3 separate regions of the Homo sapiens genome follow, and all the other regions are linked to region 2. Evidence: promoter capture Hi-C in human tissues and cell types (Jung and others, 2019). All regions are on one chromosome and are shown on one strand. Each heading gives the region's core, a stretch centred on a gene start or on the middle of the fragment in contact. The rest is flanking DNA. Distances are from core to core; before and after follow the strand shown. Region 1 overlaps SCD5 (stearoyl-CoA desaturase 5). Region 2 holds the start of COPS4 (COP9 signalosome subunit 4). Region 3 has its middle 51 kb from the start of HELQ.

The links. Contacts are between HindIII fragments. The study calls those that stand out against the background at their distance.
Region 1: a contact is called between a fragment that was not itself captured here and the fragment with the promoter of COPS4 in region 2, in 1 of the 25 tissues and cell types used here (dorsolateral prefrontal cortex).
Region 3: a fragment that was not itself captured here is called in contact with the fragment with the promoter of COPS4 in region 2 in 1 of the 25 tissues and cell types used here (spleen).

What each region holds. Positions count from the first base shown.
Region 1 is chr4:82,732,902-82,735,831 of GRCh38, forward strand. The region is part of intron 1 of SCD5 (stearoyl-CoA desaturase 5); the gene reads right to left. Among named protein-coding and RNA genes, the nearest start is that of MIR575, 19 kb to the right of the region's middle. The HindIII fragment of the contact is 5,915 bases long and covers 1-2,930 here.
Region 2 is chr4:83,033,847-83,036,983 of GRCh38, forward strand. COPS4 (COP9 signalosome subunit 4) reads left to right here and starts at 1,337. Exons shown (of 10, transcript NM_016129.3): 1 at 1,337-1,452. The coding sequence starts at 1,379. RefSeq lists enhancers at 857-976, 1,050-1,344, 1,107-1,456, 1,557-1,606, 1,647-1,706 and 2 more. The HindIII fragment of the contact is 7,675 bases long and covers 1-3,137 here.
Region 3 is chr4:83,403,456-83,406,738 of GRCh38, forward strand. No RefSeq gene overlaps it. Among named protein-coding and RNA genes, the nearest start is that of HELQ, 51 kb to the right of the region's middle. The HindIII fragment of the contact is 4,594 bases long and covers 1-3,283 here.

The DNA of each region.
Region 1 (2,930 bases), core at 218-2,717, 300 kb before region 2:
GCACCACCTGGAACTTGCTAGAAATGTTATTTTTGTCACTACCAGTCTAGTAGAAAGAGGAGGTGGAGTGGTTCCCAAATTAATGATGATGCTGATGATAATGGCTAACATTCATGGACCAGCCACTGTCCTAGGGACTTTATTAACACAGTTAATCATCACAACAACCCTATGAGGGGTTAAGCGCTATTCATATTCCTGGAATTTTATGAACTAGGGAACTGAGAAGCAAAGAGGTTAAGTAACTGGGCGTACTCACAGAGTAAATGACAGGACGACAGGAAAACAGGTCAGGCTCTCCACGCACACGCCCCACACACCACCAGCATGCACTCCCACACCTCACTCTTCACTCTAGCTTTGGTCTCTTTCACATCAGCCCCCTCCCCAGAGCACAGGCAAGCTAGCTCTGGTGCCCTGTTACGATGCACAGAGCACAGTGGCCCACAGCCTGCACTCTGGGCCAACTGCTTGGGTGTGAAGCTTGCTTCTCCCATGTAGTGAGCTTGGAGAAGTTACCCTCTCTGCCTATTTCATTGGCTGTAAAATGAGGATAATAGCTGTGCCCACCTACCTCATAGGGTGGTTGTGAAGATTAAATAGGTTAATATGCATAAGTGTGCCTGATACACATCATGTCCCCAATAAATATTACCTTATTATCTTGAAGCCTTCTAATGTGTGGAGGGGGAAAAAGAAAAATATGGGAAAGAGAAGAGAGGGAAGAAAGAATTTGGAAACAAGAGCCTGAGAATTCCGTAACAATTTCTCCAGTAAAAATTCACAAGGGTCCCTGCGCCATTCTCGCCTCTGCTAGGGAAGCACATGCTCATGAAGCCTCTGTACGTGCCTGAATGGGGCCATGGGAATCTCCCCACTCTGGGTCTCGGGAACATGGTTGATGAAAGCAGATGGTGGTGACTCAGGCCCACCACCCTCTGACTCAGAACTGCCCGATGTAAGCAGAAATCTATGTCAAAGTACAGAGACTCAGGTGTCCTTGCTGCTGCAAAGAGGCAAATCAGGGTGAGACCTACAAGATTTAGTGCCCTGCTTACACAGGTGCAAGGACAAAAAGAAAAATGGCCACTATTACATACAATGAAGGCTGTGTCTAAAGCCTTAAGAACGTCTAGCTACTTGGAGGAAATGTGAGACTATATTTTATTAAGATTACTGTTGCTGTTAGAGGTAGATAACACAGCAAAAATAACCATCAGAGAATGCCAAGCTTATGGGGCAAGAAGGATCAGACCAGAAGAAGGAAGCCGAAGGATGCAGAAATGTGGCACTGGCTTGATGAAGGAGGCAAATGCTTACTAGTGGAAAGGAGTCAATGCTTTCCCTCTTTCCTGTATCCCATACTGGCCTCCCTCACTTCCAAAGAAACCCAAACCAAACAAAACAATCCCAGCATCAGATCCAAGTAGGTAAAGCTCTGTCATCGGATGAGCCAACCAGACAGTTAACCCAACATGACTTTCTCCGACATCCACTCAAAGCTCTTGGTAATCACACTTTTCCTCTACGTATAATCGAGGAAATTTGTGCAGCTCCGAGATGCAGTTTTTGTGCTATTCTAGCTTGTGTTTCAGATCTGCACAGCTGTGAGAAACCACATAAAGGAGATGTAAGGGTTTACCTTTTTTCTGTCCTTGATGTTTAACAATATATATTGCAGTCTTTAAAATTGTGCTTTTAACCAATTTTGTAATGAGAGATAAATACAAAACATCAAAGCAACAGAAAAATCAAATTAACTTCTCATCCTGCCATGTAACAAATTATCTCTTTTTAGCTGTATTGTTGCTTGGGCTTTTTTTTTAAAACAAGCCTATAGTCAATATTTATAAAGTTGAGCTCAATTTTTTTTTTTTTTTTGAGACAGGGTCTCACTTTATTGCCCAGGCTGGAGTGCAGTGGCACGTTCTCGGCTCACTGCAACCTCTGCCTCCCGGGCTCAAGCAATTCTTGTGCCTCAGCCTCCCAGAGTGCTGGGATTACAGGTGTGTGCCACCATGCCCAGCTAATTTTTTGTACTTTTTTTAGTAGAGATGGGGTTTCATCATGTTGCCCAGGCTGGTCTCGAACTCCTGAGCTCAGGCAATCTGCCCACCTCAGCCTCCCAAAGTGCTGGGATTACAGGTGTGAGCCACCACGCCCAGCCTGAGCTCAACAATTTTTCATTTAGCATTATAGCAGGTCCTCAAAAAAGTGTCATTTTGATCAACATGGTTTTGTTACAATGTTGATGAGATTTTTGAAAATTGATTCCCAGCCGAGGCCACTGTCTGTGCGGTTTGCAAGTTCTCCCCATGTCTGTATGGGTTTTCTCTGGGTACTCTGGTTTCCTCCCACATCCCAAAGATGTGTGTTGTACATTAGGTTGATTGGCGTGTCTACACGGTCCAGATCTGAATGACTGTGTGTGTGTGAATGTGTGGGCCCTATGGTGGGATGGTGTCCTGTCCAAGGTTGGGTACCACCTTGTGCCTTGAGTTGCTGGGGATAGGCTCTGGCTACCTCCCACCCTGAAGTGCAATAAGCGGGTTGGGTAATAAATGGATACAAATTACAGTAAAATAAAAATTTGTAAAGTAGTGAATAATCCTACAGATACACGACAATAAACGACGCAGTGCGAAAGCGCTCAAGGAGCCGCCACATTCGTTACTGCTCGTTTTTCAACTGCATGGTGGAAGGGGGGGCTCCTGACAATTTTCTCATTGCAAACACTTATTCCTTGACTTACCCACCACATGACTGCTGTCACTCACCGATTCACCAAAGACTGGGTAAAAAATTATCTTACTTGTTTTTATTACCGAAATGCATGTATAGCTCACAGTTATTTCCATTTTTAATAGAAGTGTTTTGGGTCTTAATCTAGAAATGTGGTGATGTTTCCTTGACTAGAAATATGTCGTAGG
Region 2 (3,137 bases), core at 87-2,586:
AGTGGTGCAATCTTGGCTCACCGTAACCTTCGCCTTCCAGCTTCAAGTGATTCTCGTGCCTCAGCCTCCCGAGTAGCTGAGATTACAGGCACGTGCCACCACACCCAGCTAATTTTTGTATTTTTAGTTGAGACGGGGTTTCTCCATGTTGGTCAGGCTGGTCTCGAACTCCCGACCTCAGGTGATCCGTCCACCTCGGCCTCCCAAAGTGCTGGGATTACAGACGTGAGCCACGGCGCCAGCCCTCAACATGAGTTTTGGAGAAGACAATTATTTCAAACCACAGTACCAGGAAAAGTGCAAAAAAAAAAAACCAAGGCAGAACAATTATGTGGTGTTGCTTGTGAGAGGTAAAATTTTATTTTATTAATATTTGCTTGTATTTGCAGAAATTCTATAAGAATACATGAGTATTGAATGTTATACAAACGCAGGCGACCATATAATCTTCCATTGAAATGGAACGGTTTCTAGAATGAAAGGGAGGATGTTATTATTATTATTATTATTTTTTGAGACCGAGTCTCGCTGTGTCTCCCAGGCTGGAGTGCAGTGGCGCGATCTCGGCTCACTGCAAACTCCGCCTCCCGGGTTCACGCCATTCTCCTGCCTCAGCCTCCCGAGTTGCTGGGACTACAGGGGTGCACCACCTACGCCCGGCTAATTTTTTTGTATTTTTAGTAGAGAACGGGGTTTCACCGTGTTAGCCAGGATGGCCTCGATCTCTTGACCTCGTGATCCGCCCGCCTCGGCTGCCCAAAGTGCTGGGATTACAGGCGTGAGCCACCGCGCCCGGCCGAAAGGGGGGATATTAATCATTACTCCAGGACGACAGAGGGAAAATCGCTTTGTACTGGACAAACTGGAATGTCTGACCAACCATTATAAAGTGCACGGAGTGGGAGGAGGAATAGGGACATTTTAATTGTATTTCTAAAAAGTATCTTCTGTGGTGAATCGGAAACAAAACTCATTCTTTACCACAGGCAGTTTAAGCGCTGCCTGAAAGATCGAAGGACGGTAAACCACAGACGTGAGAAACGGAACTTTGCGAAAACGCAGTCGTTTTATGTACCGGCTACTCATTGGAGTTACACCAGAGACTCACTACTGGAGTTCATCAGCCAATCCAAAGTCCAAGCGTGAGAGCCAGAGCCTGTAGGAGAGACCTGGGCAGGCCTCAGACCTGAGGAGTGGAGCTCCGCATCACTCAACCCTGGGGGCGGAGCTAGCCCAGGCTCCCACACCCGACGCTCTGGCCCACACAGACGCTACTCTGTAGCATCTCAGGTTCCCTCTGGCTGCACTCTGGAGGACCACACTCGTTTTCTTTTTGGCTGCCAGAGGCCCCCGCATCCACCGCTGAGCTGGGAGAAAGATGGCGGCAGCCGTGCGACAGGATTTGGCCCAGCTCATGAATTCGAGCGGCTCTCATAAAGATCTGGCTGGCAAGTGAGTATTTCCCAGGAACGCGGGAGTACAGAGGTGGGGAAAGAAAGCCACAGCCTTAATCTCCTTAGGTTGGCCACGGCTCTTGGGCGTGAAGCTAGGAGCCGGCCTGACGTCCAAGGGGGCGGGCCTGAGGTCGGCTGGGGAGGCAAATGTTGGGAGAAGCAGAAAGCTGGAGGGGACCTTGTGCAGGGGCCTTCGAGGCTATAGACTTGAAATGATTGTCAGCTTGTTCAGTTCTTGATAGAATCTTTCTGGTCCCTTAGGATTTTGGAACAGCGGTCTGAGAGACGACTGCTACCCTGGCCTTAGTAGCCTTCCCTGGTACCTCTTCCCATCGCTGGCCGGCCTCACACCGAATCTGGCCTCTCTTTGGACCTTCCTCCTCTTTTTTTTTGATTCAGAGAAATGTATATTCTGGGGCCTTGATGCTGCGTTTTTCGGGGAGATGGCTTCTTGGGGCTGGCTGAGGTTGAGGCGGTATGGCCGCTGTCATGTCGTCCAGACCATTCAGACTGTCTTCTGTGGGTCCTTGTGTTTCGGGTATTTTCTCTGCCACCAACTCTGATGGCACATAGGCGGAATGTGCTCATATCGTGGGTCAGGATGTCTACAGTAGTGATGTTTGCAGGAATCTGAATTTTGTCGAAATTTATATAGAATGCTTAGGTTCACTCCAAGTTAAAATGTGTGACGTGCCTGTTCTGCAAGCAGTTGTCAACAGTATTAAGCATAGGTAGGTAGACGTATATTGTTCATTTTCTCTTTGTAGATGTCACAGCATTTCTCTTTTGTAATGAACATGCTTTCTGTTTAAAGTATGCCTCTCTAGGCCGGGTGCAGTGGCTCACGCCTGTAATCCCAGCACTTTGAGAGGCTGAGATCACTTGAGGCCTGAGAGATCTGAGAGGGAGGATCACTTGAGGGCAGGAGTTCTAGACCAGCCTGGGCAACATAGTGAGACCCCCCCCCCCGCCGCCACCCGTCTCCGTAAATAAATAAGTAAATAAAGTATGCCTCTCAAGTTGATCTTAATGTTTACATCCTGACAGCTGAAATCACTTTGATGTATATTAATGGGATACACCTGTTCTAACCTGGTCATTGAAATTCTGACTGTTTTAAGTAGGCTAGGCTGCCTTTTCTCTGGTGGCAAACGTAATCTACTTTTATCAGTGGGAAATTCAGCCGTATATTTTGGGCTTAACTACTTTGTGCTGCATTTTCCCACTCAGGAAAATGAAGATAATAATAGGACTTATTCTTGTCTGACATTATCTGAGGACAAGATGAGTATGTGTGTGCATATATACTTACCACACTTATATCACGTAGAACAGTACCTGACATATAGAAAGTGCGGTAAGATTGTTGTTGTTACTATTAAGCTGTCAGTAAATATATATTCACTTATTGTATGGGTTGGAAATAAGTTAAATATGTCTTCATGGCTCAATCCTTTCTGCTTGTAATTTTTATATGGATGAAAGTAAAATCAGCTTATATTTTTCCCCATGCTTCCTTTACTTTTTATTTTGTTAAAGAAGAATAAGTGCATTAGTTATCAAAAGAAATAGAGCTTTGCAAGTATTTGCAGAATTCTGAAACTTAAGTATTTACTTCTTCAGGTCTGAATTGGAGATAAACAATAGTACTTAAAGCGTGCTTCAGTTATCTGTTGCTTTGTA
Region 3 (3,283 bases), core at 679-3,178, 370 kb after region 2:
GGAAGTCGGTGTGGCGATTCCTCAGGGATCTTGAACTAGAAATACCATTTGACCCAGCAATCCCATTACTGGGTATATACCCAAAGGATTATAAATCATGCTACTATAAAGACACATACACACGTATGTTTATTGTGGCACTATTCACAATAGCAAAGACTTGGAGCCAAGCCAAATGTCCAACAATGATAGCCTGGATTAAGAAAATGTGGCACATATACACCATGCAATACTACGCAGCCATAAAAAATGATGAGTTCATGTCCTTTGTAGGGACATGGATGAAGATGGAAACCATCATTCTCAGCAAACTATCGCAAGGACAAAAAACCAAACACCGCATGTTCTCACTCATAGGTGGGAATTGAACAATGAGAACACATGGACACAGGAAGGGGAACATCACACACCGGGGCCTGTTGTGGGGTTGGGGAAGTGGGGAGGGATAGCATTAGGAGATATACCTAATGTTAAATGATGAGTTGATGGGTGCAGCACACCAGTATGGCACATGTATACATATGTAATTAACCTGCACGTTGTGCACATGTACCCTAAAAGTTAAAGCATAATTAAAAAAAAAAGAAAAAATAATAAAACCTGACACCACACTGGAATTACTGACATTTTACTGTTTTAAAGCCTTATAAGAAGAAACTGCAGATACATTCTTTGATGCTTCAGCATAGTCAGATGACACCTTCAAAAATTCCACATTTGAATCTTTGATTTGCCTAAAGTTTAATTTGGTTTAAAGCAATAGCTAGAAATCAGCTCTCTATTTATATTTATAATATAAAATATATATTATAGATAGAGTGCTCAATATACATATATGTAGAGAGAGAGAGAGAGGGTCTTGCTCTATTGCCCAGGCTGGAGTGCAGTAGCATGTGATCTCAGCTCACTCTAGCCTCATACTCCCAGGCTCAAGTGATCCTCCCACCACAGCCTCCTAAGGAGCTGGGACCACAAGTATGCGCCACCAAGCCTAGCTAATTTTTTAATTTTTTGTAGAGACGGGGTCTTGCCATGCTGTCCACGCTAAGCTTAATATTTTTCTAAATGGCGTGGTAGCCATTTGTCTCAATTCCATTCACTGAGTTATCCATCTTTTCCACTGTGACTTGAAGTGTCATCTGTATTAGCTGTTTTCTCTGCTTACCCCACTTCTCTGTCTTCTGAAGAACCAAAACCCAAACCTAAACCCTATATCCTGCTCATAGGGGTGAGAAATGGACCCACAAGGGACTAATGAGAACCCTTCCTGGGGATTTTTCTAACTAGAGTTGACAGCAGAGAGCTCTTTTTGCTTTCATCTTGAAGCCATAAGGAAGCAAGTCTGGTGCTGCCCCACAAAGAAGAGATGGTGAGTATGGACGGTGTTAGGATTCTCTGGTTCTAACTGCCCTAAGGCCAATTCTATTGCTGCCTACTGTTTGAGAGCATGGCCACTAAATGTCCCTTTTCGCTTAAGCTACATATGCTTGCATTTCTATTACTAAAAACTGAAAAACCATGTTTATTATTATTACTATTTTTTTTTTGAGATGGAGTCTTGTTCTGTCGCCCAGGTTGGAGTGCAGTGGTGCCATCTCGGCTCACTGCCTCCTCTGCCTCCCGGGTTCAAATGATTCTCGTGCCTCAGTCTCCCGAGTAGCTGGGACTACAGGCATGTGCCACCACGCCAGGCTAATTTTTTGTATTTTTAGTAGAGACGGGGTTTTGCCATGTTGCCCAGGCTGGTCTCAAACTACTGAACTCAGGCAATCTTCCCACCTCGGCCTCCCAAATTGCTGGGATTACAGGCATGAGCCACCTTGCCCAGTCTATTACATTAAATTCTTAAACATATTTAGGTCTGTTTCTATTCCCCACTTTGTTCCTTCCCACTTATCTACTTCTCTAGAACTAAACTGTTTCAGTTTCTTTACATTTTAATATCTTTTAGGGCTAATCACCCACCATTACACGTGATACAATCTTTTATTGAGATTGACCTGGAGAAACACTGATAGAAGAGTGTGTGTGTGTGTGTGTGTGTGTGTGTGTGTGTGTGTGTGTAGATTGTCCTGAACTGCAGATACAGGTATTCAAGTTACTGTAAAGGTACCCTTCTCCCTGCCCCCTCACCTCTAATCTTAAATTAATACATTAATCTTGGATTATAAATCAGTTTTTTACAAATTGGTTAGCAAGAATCAGACCTTTGGCCTGGCACAGTGGCTCACGTCTATAATCCCACCACTTTGGGGGCCAAGACGGGCAGATCACTTGAGCCCAGGAGTTTGAGAACAGCATGGGCAACATGGCAAAATTCCTTCTCTACAAAAATTAGCTGGGCGGTGACACGCACCTGTAGTCCCAGCTACTTGGGAGGCTGAGGTGGGAAAATCACTTGAGCCCGGGAGTGAGCCTCGAACTAGGTGACAAAGCAAGACCCTAACATCTCAAAAAAAAAAAAAAAAAAAAAAAAAGAATCAGAGCTTTACTTAACTAGTAAACCTGGGGTTTCTAGACTTTAAAAAAATCCTCAAGACTGGACTATGGCCCATTGTGAATGCAACTCAGAGGCTGGTCCAAACAGCCAGCAGGCTAGCCAGCTGCTGTTTCACAATCTTTTTAGCTGCAACAAATGTAACATGTGCGGCGAAGCCCAGAATTCTACTAGGACATTAGGATGCCATACTTTGACATATGTAAGGAAATGCAGGGATGGGAGTGGGGCAAGCATGATGGAATGTAATGCTAAAGATAAAATCAAGGACAGGTGTAAGGAACACTTAGGAAGGAATAAAATGGACAAATTTACCAAGACACTATTGTATAATGATTAAGTGTGTGGATGTTACACTGGGGCTGCATGGGTCTGAATCCTCGCTCTGTGACTAACTAGTTTATGACCTTGGGAAAGTTACTTTAGTTTCTCTGTGTGTCAGTTTATTCATCTGTAAAATGAGGATAATAATAGTACCTGTCTTACAGGTACAGGTAATATAAGAATTAAATTAGTTAATTCATATAAAGCACTTACAAGAGTTCCTGGCACATAGATATTTTCTGTGTATTTACCTAGTACTCTAGGTAAATGACTAGCAGATTATAATGGCCTAAAATGTTAAGGCACAAATAACTTAGACTATGGATCTATTGCAAAGTTTCCAAAGGATGTTTCTTAGGTGGGTTAATCATTAATCAAACAAGTTCAGTACTCATAAATATTGCTAGTTAACACTTTCTTTCTTGCACTAGTGTCATCTACATTTGAGCTATGATTGTGAAA